Regions from separate parts of the Homo sapiens genome. Here region 2 is linked to region 1. The links are contacts of gene promoters, found by promoter capture Hi-C in blood cells and fetal thymus (Javierre and others, 2016). All regions are on one chromosome and are shown on one strand. Each heading gives the region's core, a stretch centred on a gene start or on the middle of the fragment in contact. The rest is flanking DNA. Distances are from core to core; before and after follow the strand shown. Region 1 holds the start of GABRA5 (gamma-aminobutyric acid type A receptor subunit alpha5). Region 2 holds the start of LOC124903576 (a long non-coding RNA gene).

What was found. The method cuts DNA at HindIII sites, captures the fragments that hold promoters and counts their contacts. A CHiCAGO score of 5 or more calls a contact.
Region 2: a fragment that was not itself captured here is called in contact with the fragment with the promoter of GABRA5 in region 1 in 2 of 17 cell types (M2 macrophages and M0 macrophages); the score reaches 7.4 in M2 macrophages.

What each region holds. Positions count from the first base shown.
Region 1 is chr15:26,863,002-26,870,571 of GRCh38, forward strand. It overlaps GABRA5 (gamma-aminobutyric acid type A receptor subunit alpha5), which reads left to right and starts at 4,061. Exons shown (of 11, transcript NM_000810.4): 1 at 4,061-4,110; 2 at 5,728-5,792; 3 at 6,174-6,333. The coding sequence starts at 6,248. The HindIII fragment of the contact is 16,322 bases long and covers 1-7,570 here.
Region 2 is chr15:23,624,850-23,632,164 of GRCh38, forward strand. It overlaps LOC124903576 (a long non-coding RNA gene), which reads left to right and starts at 2,777. Exons shown (of 2, transcript XR_007064789.1): 1 at 2,777-4,268; 2 at 5,107-5,226. RefSeq lists an enhancer at 3,944-4,465. The HindIII fragment of the contact is 1,024 bases long and covers 4,129-5,152 here.

The DNA of each region.
Region 1 (7,570 bases), core at 2,811-5,310:
TTTGGGTGATAGATGCACTAGAAGCCTCGACTTCACCACTGTCCAATTCATCTATGTAACCAAAAACAACTTGTGTCCTTAAATCTACTGAATGTTTTTTTAAAAAGAAAGGACATGTCAACAAGAGTTGGCACCTTCATATTCTACATTCACAAACTAAAAACCAAAAAAAAAAGAAATTGATTGTTAAAGTAAAATATAAGTCACTGAATGCAGAAGTCATATGTGTGATAACAGGAGTGAATAGGACAGGAAGAAAAAAAGAAGTATATTATTGTAAGTTGCATGCACTACACTGTACATGAAATGGTATTATGTTAATTAAAGTTAGACTGTAGGCCGGGCATGGTGGCTCGCGCCTGTAATCCCAACACTTTGGGAGGCCGAGGTGGGAGGATCCCTTGAACCCAGGAGTTCAAGACAAGCCTGGGCAACATAGTGAGACTTGGTCTCTACTAAAAATTCAAAAATTAGCTGGGTGTGATGGTGCATGCCCATAGTTCCAACTAGTTGAGAGGTTAAGATGGGAGGATCACTTGAGAACAGGAGTTCGAGGTTGCAGTGAGCTGAGATTTTACCACTACATTCCAATCTGGGCAAGAGAGCAAGACTCTGTCGCAAAAAAAAAAAAAAAAAAAAAGAAAAGAAAAGAGAAAAAAGATAGGTTATGATGAGTTAAAGATGCCTGCTGTAAACCCTAGAGCCATCACAAAATAAAATGAAATATGGCAAAATAGAGATATGATAAATAAAACACTAAAGAAGATAAAATAGATACAATGAAATTAGAAAAAAATTTAGTATCATTTTAAAAGCCCCATATGCCTCTATTTTCCTAGTTACATAAAGGAGGCAAAGTGTGAAAAAGAATAGACCATGTTCTTCTAAGGACCCATGTCAGGTGTCAGTAGAATGGAGGTGATGCAGGAGGGTGGGAACGGATGCCCCATGTTTTTAAAGCTGTGGGGTGTCTTCTCTTTTTATTTTTTTAAATCCAGAAATGTAGATCTGTTCATTCATCCATTCATTGATGTAAAATCTGGTTTCTGAGGTGTTCAGCTTGATGACTGATACATGTATACTTCACCACCACAATCACATGCACTCACATTTCCATCACCTCGCAGAGCTGCCCTCTTTTGTGTGTGTGATGAGAACCCATAAGATCTACCCTCTTAGCAAGTGTGAAGTATATATCGCAGTGTTGTTAGCTGTAGTCACAATGTTGTATAGTAGATCCCCAGAACTTATTCATCTTGCATAACTGAAATTTTGTACCCTTTGACCCACATCTCCCCGTCTCTCCTTCTCCCAGCCCGTGGCAACCACTATATACCCAGTAACCCCCTTTCTGGGGATATAGTCAAAGGAAATAAAATCAGTATCTGAAAGAGAGATCTGAACTGTCATGTTCATTTTGGCATTTTTTACAATAGCCAAATAATGGAACAACCTAAGCATCTGCCAATGGATAAATGAATAAAGAAACTGTGAGATACGTACACACACACACGCACACACACACACACACACACGTATATGTATAACATACATATACGACAGTATATTATTTAGCCCTAACAAAGAAGGAAATCCTGCCATTTTTGACCACATGGATGAACCTGGAGAACATGCTTGGTGAAATAAGCCAAGCACAGAAAGACAAATAGCACATGATCTCACTTATACCATGGCACTGTGTTCATGTCTCAGCCACATTTACCACACCCAACCACGCAAACACAGCCACTGTCTCAGTTCCTGCCCCTGACCGGGGTACAGGGTGGGTGCTCTGTGAACACGTGTTCTACTCATGGCCCAGCTTCCCCACCTTCAGCTATTTTAGGCTCTGACACTGGAAATGAAATTCTTATGAAGCCCGGGCCAAGGCTGAGGTTGTGTGGAACTAGGGTGCCCTCTACTGTCTTCCACAACGATCACGACATTGCTTAATTTCATTCAATGAAGAGAAAATGCTAATGAAACAAATGGGAATTCAACGGATAGCCTATTATTTCTCAGCACAAATACAGAATTCTATAGTAAAACAAAAATCATTGAAATGGTAGTAAGCACTCTTCTAGCAATGTGAGTTTCTGTAAGGTTCTGATGGGCCTTACGATTTCACTGTCCCCTCAGGGCAGTCCATCTAAAGTGAGGCTATGTTATGTTACATAAACACTAGGAGGAGAGAGAGTGGCATACCGTTTCATTACAGGGAAGAGAAAAGAATTTAAGCAACATGCTGAAATACAATGTTAAAGAATGACTCTAACTTAAAATGATTTTTATATATTCAATAATATGTGTTGTGTGGACATAAAGCTGATAGAAAGTGTACCAAAAAAAGTGGAAGTTTTAAACATAATCCATCAAAAGAACATATTTCCTTACAGCTGACATTTCTTTTATTATTAAGAATTAATGTCTATAACCCTCGCTAATACAAAAATCATCCCTTGTTTATATACATTTATTTTTGCAAACTCACACCGAATGACTTTGTGTGACAAGCTGTGAAGTTTAAAATTTACCAATTCTTCCAACTCTTTGATTTGCATTATGCTGTTTAATCCTGAGAGAAGAGCAGCTGTCGCTGGTATTAGGTGTTAGAATTCCAACACCTAATAGGTGAAAATTATATTAGGCTGATCATAAAACCATGTTGTTAACTTTTTAAAATTTAATGTCTCCCAAGGAATTTCACCCTAGTGGTACATCTTTTGGGAAATTAGAAAATGAAGAAATGCATACGTTCAGTGATCCATTTTAGAATTAGAAAATTCAAATTAGCATCTTATTTCATTCATATTTCCTGAAGAACCACTGGAAACAGTTATTTAATAGTGTGGCTAAATGTATATTCAGAGAAACACTTCCTGTATATTTGCACATTTATGTATATTTATGTCCTATTCCTGGAATAGATTTACAAGTTTTGTTTTTCAGAAAATTTCAGAATTTCTGGAATGTGCAGAAGTATTAACAGGTAACTTAGATTTGGAATACACTGTATTAGAGATAACTGGAAAAATGAGAGGCTTCCTACACTGGAAGGTCAAAGATCTTTCCTGGAGGGGAGTTAGGAATTTGCCTTTACTTACCATTATTCTGTTAAAAGAGATTATGAATAATGCAGTTTCACAAAAGGAATGGGACAATGGTGTAAGTAAACCTCCCCATCACGTTTTCAGTGGCTTTCCTTTGAGTCTTGAACGTTTTCCACTGGGTGTTATAGTCGAGAGTCCCCCACCTCCTGAGGAAGCAAGACCTGGCAAACCCAAGACGATGCGCTCTTACTTGTGTTGTTTGAAGGGGCCCTGCTGCCGCGCAGTTGTCATTAATGCCACCCTCACCTCCCAGGAACTGCACCACTAGGACGGACGACACACCGACGTAATGACCATAGTAAGACCCCATGTACGTGGCTAATGAGGCAGTGACCCGACGTGGCTCGGAAGCCCTGCTGGGGAGATCCCGCCCCGTCACCCCAGAGGCGCTCTCCGACCTGCAGCCCCCAGGGCTCCTGGCCCTTTCCCGTTTGCCACTGCGGCTTGTTGTCAAGAAATGGAACTTCAGAAAACCCCCAGATATACACTGCGTTAGGTAAGGATTTCATTCTAATCGAGTCCAATGTGACCCTGGCTTTCCCTCCCGTAGTTATGCATTCCTGTCTATGAGTGAGATGAAAAGAATGTCCACAGGCCAGCTTCTTTCAGAAGCGCCTAAGAGATGCGCATGTAAGGGGTGCCATGGAGCACCCGGGAAGGACCCAGGCCTGGGCAGGGAGGCGTTGGGGCCGGCTCTAGGGAGCAAAGCTGTCGGAGTCCAGGCCTCTATCACCCGACTGCTGACACTGCCCTCCCATCCCTGCTCTACAAGCGGGCGGTGGTGACTACACGAGGCGCCGAAGATGCTGTTGAGGGCCCTGGAGAAACTTCAGCAGAACAGGGCCTCTCCCCTTGCAGGCCGAGCCGGGGGCCCTGCGCCCTCCCCCTCCGCCCAGCTCGGCCAAGGGCGCATTTGCTGAGCGTCTGGCGGCCTCTACCGGAGCACCTCTGCAGAGGGCCGATCCTCCAGCCCAGAGACGACATGTGGCGCTCGGGCGAGGTGAGAGCGGGCGCGAGTGCGCCGGGGGCGCTGGGGGGCTCTGCGGCGGGCGGCGCGCGGCCCGGGGCGCGGCGCGGAGCGGAGCTGCAGGGCGGCGGCGGGAGCGCGGGGCGCAAGAGCCGCTCCGCCGGGAGTGCCGGGGAAGTTCGCGCTGGCAGCATGGGGCGGTGACGCCGCACCGGCCTTCCGCGCCTGCCAGCCGGGCGAGAGCAGGCGGAGGAGAAGGAGGATGCATCCTCACCGACGGCTCGCCTCCCGGGGCCGGCGCGCAGGGTGAGCCCTGGGCGCGCTGGGCCGGGGCAGTGGGGTAAGAGGACGCGAGCGGGGAAGAGGACCGGCCGCCCCGGCTCGGTCCGCACCCTTCTCCTCGGGGCGCCTGAGCGGCAGGCTGCGTGGCCGGGGAGGAGAGGTGCAGAGCAGGCGGGGCGCGCAGCCAGGCCAGAGCGCAAACTTTACCCTGGCGACTGCGGGGCTGAAGCCGGGCGCGGGAGAGAGCGGGGTCCGGGCGGCTCATCCCTGCCGGACGGGGCACCAGGGCGCGGTGACCGGTTGGGGGTGGGGGACACCCGTTGCCACCATCACGGGAGCCGGAGGGGTGAGATCGCCCACCTGGAAAGCCAGCGTCAGCCCCGGGGCTCTGAGGCGCGCGGCGTCCCGGCGCTGCTCGCGGGGTGGACTCGGACCCCGCGGGGGTGTCGCGCGCGTGTCGCGCGGGCTGCTCGAGGCCAGGGGACTTGGAGTCGCTGCTGCACCGCGCGCTCCCAGCCCAGGAGGAAGGCGCTGCCTGGCGGAGCGCTTGGCTCGTACCCGGGGCAGGAGCAGGGGAAGTCTGCGAAAGCCGGGAGCGAGCCGGGGAGGGCCGGGGAGCTGGAGACCCTCGGCGTGCCGCTGCGGACCGCGCGGGTGGCGACCGCGGGTGCCAGGGCGACCCAGGCTGCGGCTCCGCAGTGCAGCCCCCGCGCCCACCTGCCCTGGCGCGCCGGCCCTGGTGAGCCTCTGTGGGGGTCCGGAGGGTCGTGGGAGCGCAGCCTCTCCTGGGGGTCCCTGGCTCGGGGCTGAGGGGCGGCGGGAGGCGCCGCCCGGGTTTCCCGCATGCAGCGCCGCGTGCTCGCCGCCTGGCTCTGGCCCGGGCCCCGCGACGAGCCCCCCGGACGCGCCCAGGCGACCACCGCATGGCACCCTGCCCTTCTTGGCAGGAGTCGCAGAAGGCCTTCGCTTCCGAGGTGGAAGTACCTGTTGTGTCTCCCAATTCCGGAGTTTGCGGGGGATGGGGGTTGGGGGGGCTTCTTGGGAAAATGCTTCTTTTCGAAGCATACTGTTCGGATGCCTGTGAGCACCTATTTGCGTTATGCGCATACTGAGAAATGCGTGTTTTCAGGAAGGTTAGTCGTTGAGCCCAGGGACAATGTCTGCCTGGATCTCAAATACATTAATTAGGGTCCAGCATTGAGTGGAGAGACTTCCACAGATGCAGTGCTTAAGTTATGTAGTCACGGGGACCGAATGCCGGGAAAGTAGCCACACTCTTTTATAGGCAGTTGTCACAGTATTGTGATCCTGCAGAAAACCTGTTTCTTAAATGTGCTTTTCCCCACTTCTTTCCACGTACTTTCTCAGTGCCTTGCAGAGAGAGGAGTAGCTTGCTGGCTTTGAACGCGTGGCGTGGCAGATATTTCAGAAAGGTAAAATTACTACACTTGTGGATTTGACGGATACAAAATACAGTCGCTCAGATAACTACAGCGTTTATTTTAATAATTGGACTAATGGTTTATTTGATAACATGCTAAAAAACAAAACAGAGTATTTGAGTGGAAAACAACGAATTAGGGTGATTCTGCACCCTGAGTAGAAGTAAAAATAAGCCTCTTGTTACTTATTTTTATGCTCCAACTTACTGCCCAGTGAGGGTGATGGAAAATACCTGGTGTGCAGCTGTCCTGGGGAAGGACAGCGGGCTCCTTTCTTTGCAAATTGTTGTGATAGCAGTGTGATTTGATTCCAGGAACTGTGACACAACAGCATTGATGTTCACGTGCTTCCCCGCTTTGTGTGCTTTTCAGCTTCAAGAACAAGCTGGAGAAGGGAAGAGTTATTCCTCCATATTCACCTGCTTCAACTACTATTCTTATTGGGAATGGACAATGGAATGTTCTCTGGTTTTATCATGATCAAAAACCTCCTTCTCTTTTGTATTTCCATGAACTTATCCAGTCACTTTGGGTAAGTTACCATCTGTGCTTTTATTTTATGATGTTAGGGACACTGGTGCCTTTCAGACATGTTACGGGAGCAGCACATCCATTGAGCAAGTCCTCGCCTGCCACCATTGCAGTCCCAAGCCCTTCACTTGTTGTAAATAAATGAAGTCATTGCCCTGACCCACGCTTTCTTCCTGAGCAAGGCTGCTCCTCACGTGGGGTCTCTGAAGTGAGTCAGAGAAAAAAAGGCAGATTATGTTTTCAGAAATGGAAGCTGAAGATGATATCCGAGTCAGCTGTGATTCTTCCTACTCAGGTTAAAACAAGATTCAGGAGTTCACATGCATGAAGGACAGTCACTGCTTGTTAGACAAGGCAGTGCCAACATTTCAGTTGCCCTCCACGGTTCCATTATGCAATCAAAGTTGCCTTGAAAGCCAGGCCTATGCTACTTGGCATTGAAAAGGACTCACAATGGTCCTGGCCTGAGCCAAGGCCCTAGAACTGTGACCATCTGAATGCAGGTGCAGACACCATAAACCACAGGTGCCTGAAGATCTGAAAGACACCCCTGAGGTTCTGGCACTATCATTTCCAGTAACCCCTCTTTCATTTTAGCCTTTAGTATCCGCATACCAACTCTAACCTTTTTTTTCATGAAACTAGTGATAACCCACATCGTGGATGAATGTTCTTATGAGGCTGCTGTTCCTGTTCTGACCCGTGCCCTAGAATTGTTCTGGTTAATCAAAAGGATTGTAACTTGAAGTTGATGGCATATAATTAAGAAATTAAATGTCAGGACAAAAGTTGCCAAGCGTTAGTGCTGCAAAAATGGGGTCCAGAGGTTTCACAGCCTATCCACATTTATGTAAATAATCACAGGATGGGGAATATCCAGTGGCTTGGCAACAGCCTGTAGACAGCCTTCCCATCTGGGGGGAAAGAAGACATCCCCAGGGCCATGATGTTTTCTGTCTGTCCTCTGTACATTTTCTGCTCTTCTGACTCTTCTGTGCAGAGGAAGGGGTGGGTGTGGGGGCCTTGCTCAGGTGCAGTGGCTGGTAGAAGACAGCATTGGGACTTTAGTCCACATCCACCCCGGGGCAAGCCTGAGCCATCAGCTGAGACTTTGTCCAGCAGAGCTGAGCTAAGGAAGATGCCTGTCCCTCACCAACAGAAGCCAGGCAGTGTGTGCACTCTAACCACACTGACGGGAACAGGTGTGTGGCATGTCTCAGCCCTTTGAGCCATTCTAA
Region 2 (7,315 bases), core at 3,391-5,890, 3.2 Mb before region 1:
AAAGGGATGTTGAATTTTAGTGAGAGTCTTTTCTACATCTGTTGAAATAATCATGTGTTTTTTGTTTCTAGTTGGTTATGTGATTAATCACATTTTTTAAAATTTGCATCTGTTGAACCAACTTGGCACCCCAAGAATAAAGCCTACTTGATTGTGGTGGATTATCCTTTTGATGTGCTGCTGGATTCATTTTGCTTATATTTTGTTGAGGATTTTTACATCTATGTTTATCAGGGATATTGGCCTGAAGTTTTCTTTTTTCATTGTGTCTCTACCAGGTTTTGATATCAGAATAATGCTGGCATCACAGAATGAGTTAGGGAGGAGTCCCTCCTCCTCTATTTTTTGGAATAGTTTCAGTAGTATTGATACTACTGAATCTCTTTATATGTCTGATACAATTCAGCTGTGAATCTCTCTGGTCCAGGACTTTTTGGGGTTGGTATTTTTTAAATTACTGATTCAATTTTGAAACTTATTATTGGTATGTTCAGGTTTTCAATTTCTTCCAGATTCAATTCCAGGAATTTAACCATTTCCTCTAGGTTTTCTAGTTTGTGTACATAAAGGTGTTCATAATAGCCTCTGAGGACTTTTTGTATTTCTTTGGGATTAGTAGTAATGTCCTCTTTGTCATTTCTTATTGTGTTTATTCGGATCTTTTTACTTTCTTTGTCTAGCTAGCAGTCTACCAATCTTATTTATTATTTTAACGAACATGCTTTTGGTTTCTTTGATATGTTTTACATGGTTTTTCTCATCTACATTTCATTCAGGTCAGCTCTGATTTGGGTTATTTATTTTCTTCTGTTACCCTTGTCATCAGTTCGCTCTTGCTTTTCTAGTTCCTTTAGGTGTGATTTTAGTTTGTTAATTTGAGGTATTTCTAACTTTTACATGTAGTCATTTAATGCTGTAAACTTTCCTCTTCACACTGTTTAGCTGTGTCCCAGATATTCTGGTATGTTGTATCTGTGTTTTCATTAGTTTCAAAAAATGTCTTGATTTTTGCCATAATTTTATTGTTTACCCAAATTCAGTAGTAGATTTTTTAATTTCCATGTAATCGTGTGATTTTGAGAGATCTTCTTGGTATTGATTTCTATTTTTACCGTACTGTGTCTGACCATGTGGTTGGGATGATTTCATTTATTTTGAATTTGTTGCGAATTGCTTTGTGGCTGAGTGTGTGAGTGATTATAGAGTGTATATGCCATGGGCAGCTGAGAAAAATGTATATTCTGTTGTTGTTATGTTAGGTCTATTTGGCCAAGTGTCGAGTTTTAGGTCCTGAATAACTTTGTGAGTTTTCTGCTTCTATAATCTATCTAATACTGTCAGTGGGGCGTTGACATCTCCCATTATTATTGTATGGATATCTAATTGTCTTCTCAGGTCTCTAACAAAATGTTTTTTTAATCTGGATGTTCCAGTGTTGGTTGCATATATATTTAGGACAATTAAATCTTCTCATTGAATTGAACTCTTTATTATTATGTAATGCCCTTCTTTGTGTTTCATGATCATTGCTGTTTTAAAGACTGTTTTATCTGAAAGAAGAATAGCAACCCTGCCCCTTTTTTGTTTTCCATTTGCTTTATAGATTTTTCTTCATGCTGAATCAGAGTCTACTTTCTATAAGAGTCATTCTAAACTGACTGTGACTAGGTGCTTATTCTGCTATCATCTCCCACTGTATTCAAATAACTCACCCTTGGTCCTAGAATTATCTACAAGTGTCCAGAATCATTGGATACAAACAAGGAAGGACAGATAAGCATAAGATGCTCAATGGCTGATGGGTTGACTTCTCCCAAGAGAAAGTTCCAGGAGAAACAGACCTGAGCACTGAGTCAGGATCCTGCTATAAAAATGATTTGTGCTGTAAAAGAACATCCATTTGTATCCTACCATCAACCTCAGCTTTAACCTCACCTCTCGAGATCAAATTTTATCCATTCCGTTCTTTCTTCCATCAGCATGTTCTCTTCACCTCTTAGGACCATTTTAAAACTAACTCTGTAAGTGTGAAACAGAATATTTCTTTTCACTGTCTTTTCCGTTATCAAGTTTTACTCTTTGGAGTCAGAGTTCTGGTTGCTCCTTCAAAGTAGGTGACTCATGTCTGCAAGTGGTCTGACCCTCAGAGTACACATGGGAAGAGGGAGAGGAAAAATGTGAAACACCCAGATAAATATTTCAACGTATCATCAAGCCACATGTCCTTTCTTGGTTCAGTATTGAAATGTACAGAAACATACTTCTTATTTCAGGGACTCCATTTCTATCCCATCTTACCTGAAAAGGTGGCAACTAAAATTCTATCCCATGTATTTGCTCTTCTGGAATACTAATTCCCACTTGCTTCACAGACACATCATCAAGTACCAGCAAGATTCCGTAATTCCTGTGAGTCCATAACGGTAATGTGCCTCCTTTTCGTTTCCAAACGAGAATTCTCATTATGGTTATTTTTTGCTTCCCCCTATTGGCTGTTTGAAACATAACTTATCTTTTTAGTTCCTGGGTCCCTGACCTTGACAAACCACGGCAGAACTTGGTGGAGAAGGCTGAGTATAATTCTGAAATCCTGAACTTTGAGCTGGATTCAATACGTAGGTGAATTTTGGATTGTCTCCTCTAGGGAGAGTGTGTTCAACATTTAAAAGGAAGTGTAAAGTGGATATTTGATAAACACAAGGGCTACCATGGCAGAGGAGAACGCTGTGATCGCATCAAATCCTGTTTTCTCTTGGGCACACAGCTGCCCCACATATACCATCCCTAGCTGCAGTTAGTTGAGGTCATGTGACTGAATTCCAACTAATATAGGTAGAAATAAAGTACTCCACTCCCAAATACAGTTTATAAAAATCTCTGACATAATCCTCCACACTCTTTTACTTTCTCTGACAGGTGAACGGCATGGATTCTGAGAACCAGGAAGAGAGCCAAGTCATAAAAGGATCGGTGCCCGAGTGAGTCCTTGAATGGTTCATGGAACAGAACTTCTCAGTCTTCACTCCCCTTTACCCATACTGAAGTTTACATGATTAATATAATGTAATATATAACTAAGCCACTGAGATTTGCGAGTTTCTTTGATTGCAGCTGGTGTTTAATTTCTGAGTAACTAAGAAGGAATACATTTTTGAGGACATGGTATTTGGTCTGCAACCACCCATGGTTTTAGAGAAGAAGCAACCCATGTAGGTATGTGGGCACCAATTATTCCAGTTAGACAAACAACACACCCAAAGCCCAAAGTCTGGGAGAATGTGTTTAAGAAACAACACACAACGACGACAAAAAATAATATAGCTGGTTTCTAGTGAATGGAGAGGAGAGTGGTAGGAAATGAAGTTTAAGAGGAGTGTGGAGACCAGATCCCACAGGACTGTGTAAACAGTGAAAAGGAGTTCACATTTCATTATAATTGTGATGAAACCTCATTGGAAAATTTTAAGCAGAGAAAATCCATGATCTTACTATGATACACAGGTCTTTAAAAGATTGAGTTACTCTTTGTTGAATGAATTTTAAGAATCCAGAGAGGATGACAAGGGACCAGTTAGGAGATAATAATCTTCCAGGCAAGACATGTTAGTGACTTAAACAAGATTTATTACAATGGAAAGAGGAAAAATTGATATATCCCACTGAATCATTCAATTAATCAGGTCTAAAAAATATGGATTATACATTTATGTAATAATTATATTAAGATCTGTTGTGAGTCACTTAGGATAATGGCAAAAATATTAAAGGGAATATTAGGGAAAGTTATAGGAAATAATCACAAATCTTTTGAAAGGCCAAAAGCTTAAATAGCTTGTAATAATTGAACAGGCTAAAGGCAGCCGGTTCTTACCTTAGAGCACTAGGTCATAGGGTAAATACTAGGAACAATAGAGGATTCCCCAGTTACTTCTGTTTACCCTACCTCCATTAACTAATCTTTAAGCCAAATGGCCCTCTGGGTGGTTGTGGGTGGGGGTAGGGGCGGGGAGGTCAACTAGGGAAATTGCCCCCTAATGGTATTTACTTTAAACCGTAGTACCTAAGTTTTAATCATTTGTAAAACTACTTTCTTAACCATGTTAATTATCCTCAAGTGTGTTTACTCAAAGCTTCTGTTGTTCATTGTATACTAAATAAATGCCTGAAGTGCAAGCTGCTCAGGACCAGCCGCAGTGACAAACCTCTCCTGGTGTGCAGGCAGTCGGACGCTCAGCTGGACTGGCGAAACAAAGTATCTGTATGTCAATGTACGTTTTATTCATCCGTCTTTTGGGTCAGGGTCTGCGGGCAAACCCCCGCAGCTAATGCCCTCTGGTAAGACGCCATACCTCAACTGGTGCCCCGTGTAAGGTGCAATACCACAAAGATACAATACAATTGTTACATTAGCAAAACATATGGGTCATGAATTATGTTATGTTCAGGACAGTTGTAGACAGTCTGCAGGGAGGTCTAGTTTTAGCTTTTTTAGACTTAGTGTAAATTTAGTGAAGCCTGTAGTTGTTCACAGTAACAGAAAATACAAAAAACTGTTGGTTGATCTAGTGGCCACTAGATGGCCCGATAAACTCTACTTCATAGACCTCGGAGCTAGACACTGAAGTGACTGCAGTTTGTTGCTGAAAACTATATAGTGTAAAAAGCCTTTGTTGTTGTTATTGTGAATGGAAAATAATTATCAACATTATACAAATTAAACAGGTTCATATCGGAGAGGCTCTGCTATAGAGTCCTACAAAATGGAATTGAATATAATTTCTCTGATATAGAAAAACACTCATTTTAGAATGAAAAATAGTGATATGCATGTGTGTAAAATGTGTAATCTTAGTCTCAGGCTTCAGTTTCGTAATTTTAGATCACTTCCCTCTTTTTCATGAGAAAAGCTCCTAGACACTCCTATTTGGGAATTGTATAAATAGTGAATAATATAATGAAGAAAAAAGTCTAAAACAAGGACTTGCTGTACACTATCTACAGGTGTCTTGAACATGTTATATAAGGTATTCTTTTGCTTATTTATGAGTTTGGTTATTTGTTTTTATTTGCTGAATTGTAAGAGTTCTTTGTGTATTTTGGATACAGGTCCTTTATCAGATATGTGACGTGCAAATATATCCTCCAAGGTTGAAGCTTGTTTCTTCATTCCCTCAAGAGTTAATTTCACAGAGGGAAACATAATTTTAATAAAGTCCAATTTATCAATTTTTTTGTGGGTTGTATTTTTTATCATATCTAAAAATTTGTCAACAAACTCAAAGCCATGAAAATTTATCCCATATTTTCCTCTAAGAGTTTTGTACTTTTGCATTTTATATTTAGTTCTATAATCCACTTTGAGTCACTTTTTGTGTAAGATGTGAGATCTGTGTCAAAGTTCACTTTTTGAATACGGACATCCAATTTTTCCACCATCATTTGTTAAAAAAGTATTCTTTCACCACTGAATTGCCTTTGCACCTTTGCCACAAATCCATTGACAATATTTGTGTTCATTCATTAATGAGTTTTCTATTCTACTCCATTGATCTATGTGGCTACTCTTTCACCAATGTCATGCGGTCTTGATTTTAGAGGGAAAGCATTCTTTCTCTAGTCATTTAGAATAAAATTAGCTGCAAACTTTTCATATAAACCCTTTATTAGGTTAAGGAAGATCCCTGCTATTTCTAGTTTTCAAGACTGTATATCATGAATGGGTGTTGAATTTTGTTGAATATATCTTCTACATCTATTGACATGATCATATTTTTTCTTATTTATACTGTTAATAGGATAAATTATATACATCAGTATTTATAAATGTTGAATCAGCCTTGCCTTCCTGGAATGAACCCCATTTGGTCACATTATATTGTTCCTCTTATATATTGCTGGATATGATTTGTTAAAATATGTTAGGGAGATTTGTGTCTCAATTAATCAGAGGTATTTCTCCATAGTCTCCTTTTTTGGTAATGTCTTTATCTGGTTTTGGTTAATGCTAGCTTCATAAATGAATCAGGTAGTGTTCATATGAATATGCTAGCTTCATAAAATGAGTTAAGCAGTATTCCAACCTCAAACTTTCCAGAAAAAAAAGTGTTAATTTGTACTATTTCTTTTTAAAAATTTGGTAGAGGCTGGGTTGTGGTGGCTCACGCCTGTAATCCCAGCACTTTGGGAGGCCGAGGTGGGTGGATCACGAGGTCAGGAGATCGAGACCATCCTGGCTAACACAGTGAAACCCCGTCTCTAATAAAAATAAATACAAAAAATTAGCCGGGCATGGTGGCAGGCGCCTGTAGTCCCAGCTACTCGGGAGGCTGAGGCAGAAGAATGGCATGAACCCGGGAGGCGGAGCTTGCAGTGAGCCGAGATCGCGCCACTGCACTCCAGCCTGGGCGACACAGAGAGACTCCATCTCAAAAAAATATATATATATATTTGGTAGAATTCACCAGTGAAAGCATCGGGGGCTGGTGTTTTAGGTAGCTATTTCTCCTTGAGTGAGTTTTGGCAGTTGGTGTCTTTCAAAGAATTGCCTCATTTCATCTAGGTCATCAAGTTTATGACACAAGAAGGCTGGAGTGACGCTGGACTGGGTGCACTTCCCTCCCCCAAGATGGGATGAGATTTCGGTATTCCTGTCTAAAGCGAGCTCTTAGGGCTTCCTCCAGCCTAGGGTGCCCAGTGGCTTTTTCTCTGTGTCTTACATGCTGTATCTCCCTGGAGTAACCTTCTCTCTGGATTTCAGGGTGGCAGGTTGCCCTGTAACCTTAGTTCCCTGATGGGTTTAAAAAAAATCCTGTGTGCATGCTTACACCTGCTGCAACCATGAAGCCTCTGAGTCCCAAATACCATGTAAGAAAACAAGGGCTGAAAGTAAATAGTGATTCAGAAGTGAATCAAGTTTCATTGTAATTTATGGTCGTTGGTTATTGTAATATGTTTCTGCACGGTATTTTGCATTCAAAAAATTTCTATTTGAGTAAAATTGACTAGGGAGATGAGGTATTCCATCTCATGTTTGTCTTGAGGTTACTTGGAGCCTCCCCAGCACCCACCTGACCTGGGGACTCTACCAAAAGTCAAAGAAGCGGTGCTGGTGCATGAAACCAGGAATCTATGGCTACTTGGAGGAGAAACACGTAACTTGTTGCCCAAATCAGACTGCGGAATGCTTGGGATCAATTCAGATGCTTGTAGCTATAAGTAAAATACAACCCAACTAAAATTACTTTTTAAATGCCCTACAGGTAGGCCATTCCAGGATTTCTTGATACAGTGGCTCAACCGGATCACTGAAGCCATG